Regions from separate parts of the Homo sapiens genome. Here region 2 is linked to region 1. The links are contacts of gene promoters, found by promoter capture Hi-C in human tissues and cell types (Jung and others, 2019). All regions are on one chromosome and are shown on one strand. Each heading gives the region's core, a stretch centred on a gene start or on the middle of the fragment in contact. The rest is flanking DNA. Distances are from core to core; before and after follow the strand shown. Region 1 holds the start of DDX4 (DEAD-box helicase 4). Region 2 overlaps MTREX (Mtr4 exosome RNA helicase).

The links. Contacts are between HindIII fragments. The study calls those that stand out against the background at their distance.
Region 2: a contact is called between a fragment that was not itself captured here and the fragment with the promoter of DDX4 in region 1, in 1 of the 25 tissues and cell types used here (spleen).

The regions. Positions count from the first base shown.
Region 1 is chr5:55,736,280-55,739,506 of GRCh38, forward strand. It overlaps DDX4 (DEAD-box helicase 4), which reads left to right and starts at 1,782. Exons shown (of 22, transcript NM_024415.3): 1 at 1,782-1,822; 2 at 2,671-2,753. The coding sequence starts at 2,685. The HindIII fragment of the contact is 12,969 bases long and covers 1-3,227 here.
Region 2 is chr5:55,357,933-55,361,159 of GRCh38, forward strand. MTREX (Mtr4 exosome RNA helicase) reads left to right here. Exons shown (of 27, transcript NM_015360.5): 15 at 641-766. Among named protein-coding and RNA genes, the nearest start is that of MTREX, 52 kb to the left of the region's middle. The HindIII fragment of the contact is 3,997 bases long and covers 1-3,227 here.

The sequences.
Region 1 (3,227 bases), core at 532-3,031:
AATATATTCATTTTGATCATCTTGAGAATAGTCTGACAAAGTTTATTGCTAACTAGATGAATCCTGAAATTCTTGGTGGTGATGGTTCTAGAGATAAAAAGTATGAAGCAAGCCTGAGCCTATTAAGTGCTTTATCCTTTATGTACCAGTATCAAACTGTGTTGCTATTTATGTTCCTGAATGAGATAGGAATTTCTTCAGATTCAGAGAAGGGAAAATGACAGAAACGACAACAAAAATGAGAACTACACTTTTTTTTTTTTTTTTTTTTTTTGAGGCGGAGTCTCGGTCTGAGGCCCAGGCTGGAGTGCAGTCGCGCGATCTCGGCTCACTGCAAGCTCCGTCTCCCGGGTTCACGCCATTCTCCTGCCTCAACCTCTGGAGTAGCTGGGACTACAGGCGCCCGCCACCACGCCCGGCTAATTTTTTGTATTTTTAGTAGAGACGGGGTTTCGCCGTGTTAGCCAGGATGGTTGCATCTCCTGACCTCGTGATCCGCCCGCTTCGGCCTCCCCAAGTGCTGGGATTACAGACAGACGTAAGCCACCGCGCCCGGCCTCTGAGAACTACACTTTTAAAACAGCCCATGGTCACGCGTTTTGAAGGGCTGGGGAAATACTGAGGGATTTTACCTGCTTTTGGGGTGGGGGGTGGGGGCAGAACAAGAAAATCTGATTGAAGACAGCATGAAGTATCAAAATAACCCTTGGCCACTTTGGCTAGTGCCCGTAGGAATATAAACAGGTGGGCCACAAATCCAAGCCTTGATGAATGACCTATGCCAGCACCAATTTCCTCCCTCCTTCTGGATCAGAGCCTGTTTCCTTCCAAAGTGGTGGACCCCCGAAATCTTACAGGCTTTTTTTTTTTTTTTTTTTTCCTCTGTCTCACTCTGTCGCCCAGGTAGAGATCAATGGCATGATCTCGGTTCATTGCAACCTCTGCCTCCCGGGTTCAAGCGGTTCTCTTGCCTCAGCCTCCTGAGTAGCTGGGACTACAGGCAGCCGCCACCATACCCGGCTAATTTTTTTAATTTTAGTAGAGACGGGGTTTCACCATGTTGGCTAGGCTGGTCTCGAACTCCTAGCCTCATGTGATCCGCCCGCCTCGGCCTCCCAAAGTGCTGGGATTACAGGCGTGAGTCACCATGCCCAGCCGAGTCTAACTTTCTTTACGATTTCCTGGGGTCCCAGCTGGACGGAGTCTCATCCCTGCCCCCCTTACTGGGAGGAAAAGGGAATGCACCTCCTCCATGAGCCTCAGCTGCACTTTGAGGCACCTGGAATCCCCGGATGTGGAGCGAGTCTCTGAAATGCAGAACCCGAGGGGCCAACCCATGGACTGTGATGGGTAAAAGGGGAGAGAGCACTAAAGAGGCCAAGTAGGGAGGACATTATCCCTTTCCCCTTTTATTATTATTTTTTGTTAGAAAAAGGCAGGTGGACATATTTAGCTTGCGAAGCTTGCACAAGGAAAATCCAGAGCGTCTCCAGAATAAGGATCCCACGAGAGAACGTGGACACAAGTAGGCCCTCAGCCAGCCTTGTACCCACAGGCCCAACAGGCCACTTGGCTATGAGGCCAGAGCGTCGCCATAGGGGCCCGAACGCTAGCGTTTAGGGAATCCGCAGGCTAGAAGTGGAGGCGGGACGCCACTGGTCGTCTGAGCGCTGATTGGCTGGTGGCGCTAGTCACCAGCCAATCGTCAACAGACGCCATTTGTTGTTGGAGCCACGCACCTGACGCAGTGGGCGTCTTGCACGTGCAGCCGTTTAAGTCGCGTGGGCGCCTGCGAGGGCTTGGGAGAGCAAGCCGCGGAGAGGTGAGTGGGCCGCTTTTCTACGGGAACTGGCCTGAACTCGGCCGTACGGGCTCCCCAGTAACCGACCTTTGGCCAAAGTGTGGATGGAGTAGGAGGAGTTTTGAAGCCGTCCTTCGAAGCCTTTCTGCCTCGGGGTCTCAGAGTCCCACGGGTGCCCAAAGTCTGGGCTTGAGGCCTGCAGAGGAGGCGAAGGGGCCTTATTCCTGGCTTCTTCACTGCGTTTTCTCTGAACAGACATGGTCCGAGTACCATTTGTGTACAAATCCTTCTTGATGAAGCTGGTTGTCCTTTGTCGGCAGGATTTGGGCAACCATACCCTTCTTCCCTTCCCCACTAAAATCCAAGGCCTCCCTCTTCACCGAGTCGCCGCCCCCCTACCCAGTCGACTCCCGTACCCCTGTCCCCGCCCCCACGCACGCCACAAACACCCCAAAGCAAACATCCTATCCACCTTGGATGTTAATCATGCGAAGGGAGAAATCTTAAGTAGTTTCTGAAAAAAGTTGCCTCTCCCTTAATATTCAGTAAGTCGTTTGGGGACCCTTTGAGGGAGGAGATAAAGTCTATGAACAGATGTTTGGGAAAAGCCTAAGTCTTGCTGGGGACATGGCGATTGCTAGAATGACTAGGTAAGAGGTTCAACTAGTTTCTAAAGCTAAGAAAGGATGGAGATAAATGCCACCTTTAGATAAGAAGAGACCTAATTCCTTCTTTGGAAAAAACTTTTGGGGTATCAGCACCTAGTTGGGTAGTTTCAAGATGTATGTGAAACAATGAGTTTATGCTTTTAAAGTTATGATTCTGATCTAATTGAGTCCAAATGTGCATTTTTTTTTTTTTATGAATAGAACTTGAAGCCACCATGGGAGATGAAGATTGGGAAGCAGAAATCAACCCTCATATGTCTTCCTATGTTCCCATATTTGAGAAGGTAATAACATTTAAAGTTTAGTTATTAAATGCTACGGATTTTATCAAAGTTGAAAATCACTGTGGTGAGAGTTCTAAATTATACAGTCTGTGTCAGTGTTTATCTCCATGTGATTGTTATTAACTATTATATGGGGAATAAGAGACAACCTAAGCCTCGTATAGGATACAATAGCTTGAGGCAATTTGATAATTAAAAGCTAAAATAGATGTAAAAATATTAATGACCTAATTTAAATCTCAATGATTTAGGACTTCCTCAGGTGAAAGCAAACTTGGGCAAATGTGGTTGATATCAGTGAAAGACGCTTGTATGGAAAATTGAAAACAATAATTACGTTTTGGGAGATATTTTAAATTCTGAAAATTGATTTTGTGCAAGGAGGGTTCTCAGGATAAATGATACTAGGCTGATTGAGTTGGTAACATCAGTTTGTATGAATCTTCAGATCTTTTTTCTTAATGGCATTTGGGG
Region 2 (3,227 bases), core at 298-2,797, 380 kb before region 1:
TTTTTTCCAAAAGCATGAATTATAGTCATCTCATTTTGCAGATTCAGAAAGTTAATTATGATCAAGTCAGAATTGATACTTGGTTGAGTTTGAGTCATTGCATTCTTAGATTTTGCTGTTTTCGCTGGGCGTGGTGGCTCATGCCTGTAATCCCAGCACTTTGGGAGGCTGAGGCGGGCAGATCACAAGGTCGGGAGATCAAGATTTTGCTGTTTTCCAGAATATCCAGCTCAAAGGTATTTTTTACTGCCAGTGAATTAGCCAATATTTCCCAGAAGCTGTCATATATTTGTAAGCATAATTAACAGTAATTGGCTTATGTGGAAAGCCAAAATTTTTAAAAGCCTAAATTTTAGGCTTTAAATTTAGATTAAAAGCATAAATTTTCGATCCAAAATGATAATAAGTCTAAAATTTAGTTTTGTTATGTCAGTGTGATGTCGGTTTGAAACATTATTCTCACATGTTTTGCATTTTTGTGCTTTGACTTTAACTCTTCTCAAACTTCATGTTGTTTTTAATCATGTTTCCTTTCTTAGGGTTTATAACTTGTTATAAATTTTATAAAAAGAGAAATTTTAAGAATATGTTTTTTACCAGTTTTTTTCCTAAACTCTGAATTTTAACTATGTTCATTCAGATTTCTTCTGGTGAATACATTCAGATGTCTGGTCGTGCTGGAAGGAGAGGAATGGATGATAGAGGAATTGTAATTCTTATGGTAGATGAAAAGATGAGCCCAACAATTGGAAAACAATTACTTAAGGTAACTACATTAAGATTGTGTACCTTTACCAAGAATTCCAGAAATATACTTCAGGAGCCATTTCAGAATTGGTTGTGTCAGTCAGACACCTAAGTGAAATGAGTTAATATACTGAAACTATCTGGGCTTGGGAAGATGGAAGGGTGTGATTACTCAAAATACTAACATCTTGTATCCTACTTCACCTAATAGGTGGAGAGCAACTCATGTAATGGATAGGGTGTGAAGATCTCCAGAGAGGGCAGAAATGTTTACTTTGTCCTCCAAATTTAAGAAATCTCTTTATTTGACCCATCCACTGCACAAGTTGTTCTTTACCTGGTAGAACAGGAAGTTCTGTTCTACTGATAATCAAGTGTTTTGGGCAGGCAATGAGCTTCCTCTACCTTTGCAAGCGCAGATAGCTTAATAGGTTAATTCAGCAATCTGCGTTTACACTTTACCCTATTGATTATAAATATCCCAATCAAAAAGGACACATTTTAAGCTTTATTGCAGATTAGACTTTTATTTTGCTTGCTTAGTATTTGTGCTTCGGATGGTCTAGGATTTTGTTTTGAAGAGCTTCTCAAGGAAGATTGGCCTGGTTGCCTTTTTTCTTCTTATCCATATAGAGAAAAGTGTTAATAAGATAGGAAACTTTAATTAAAAACACAAAATTAATTGCCAGCTTATTAGCTACTTAAAAGTAGCTACTTCAAAACATGTTAAGACACACTTAGGTCAGTATCTATGAAACAGATTGTGTGTCTAACTTTTTAGACTTGGGAACTTTGTGGAGAATTTGAGATATAGTCATAATGAAGCTTGGTATGTTGAAGCAAAATTGATGAAGGTGTGTATATCTTTATATGTCTTTACATGAGTGAAGACAAAGCTTGTCTGTACATATTCATAATAATCGTATTGTGTCTTATTTTCAACTTTAGAGATTAACACTTGGAAACCTCTTTAGTGCTTCATGAAAGGAAAATTAAACAAGGCTGAAAATTTGTATTTTTATTCTTTTCTCTAATTGTGCCAGATATAGCACATGCTATTTTTCTTTCCTTGTACTGTGTGTGTGGAAAGAACAGAATCGGATTGCCAGATTATAGGAGGTAATATTTTAATGACAGCATCTGGTTCCTTTAGTGCAGAGTTTTCATTCCATTTACTTGACGTTTCTGGATTTGTTACTTTGTAAGTGTAAAGTTCTATCACCTTTCATTGCATTTTTAAAATTAACTTTTCTAATAGACTTATTGAGCTATAATTCACATACCATACAAGTCACTCATTTCCATGGTTTTTAATATATTCATAGAGTTTTGTCACCATCACCACAATCAATTTTAGAATATTTTCATCAATCCAAAAAGAAACCCCTGTACCTATTAACAGTCACTCTTCTTTCTTCACAAGACCACCCCTACCTCAAGCCCTAGACAACAACTAATTTGCTTTCTGTCTCTATGGATTTGTCTGTTGTGGACATTTCATATAAACAGACTCGTATAATGTGTACCCTTTTGTATCTGGCTTTTTTTCACTTAGCCTAATGTTTTCAAGTTTTATGCATGTTGTAACATCTATGAGTACTTCATTCCTTTTCATTGCTGAATAATATTTCATTGTATGGGTATGCCAAACTTGATCTGTTCATCAGTGGATGGACATTTGGATTGTTTCCATGTTTTGGCTGTTGTGAGTAATGCTGCTATGAACTTTTTTTTTTTTTTACAAGTCTTTACTTGAATATGTGTTTTCTTTTCTCCTGACTGTGTACCTAGGAATGGAATTGCAGGGTCATAGAGTAAATCTATGTGTAACCTTTTGAGGAACTGCCAGACTGTTTTCTTTAGTAGTTGCACCGTTTTACATTCCCACAAGCATTATATGAGGCTTCTAATTTCTTTACATTCTAGCCAGCACTTGTTAGCTGCCCTTTTGGTTAATAGCCATCCTTGGGGTATGAAGGAGAACATTTCACTTTGAATATTATACAGTTTGACTGATTGAAAGGAGTACCTGTTTTTGTGTCTGCATTTCTAGGCATATTTCTTTTATCAAGACTGGCATACAACCTTTTTCCTCTAGGTTTTTTTCCAGGTGGTTTTACTATCATTAAGGAATTTATAAGTAACTTATTCAGTATTTGTAACAACTAATACTTATTGAATATTCAATATGTTCCAAATGTTAATTACAATAATTATGTTATTATCTCCATTTTATAAATGGCATGCAGAGGTTAAAAAATTTGTCCAGAGCTATGTTGTTGTTAAATGGCAAATCCTGCTTTTGAACTCAGGCAGTCTGATTTCAGAGTTTATGCTTCTAACTACTATATGGTACTGCTTCTCAGTACCTCTTGCAAATAGATTTTTCAACTATTAGTTTAAACACTATTTGACATGAGACAACAGTTTGTTCTTTGATGTACTTAAAGTAGATAGGCTAAAAAATAGTCATGTCAGGT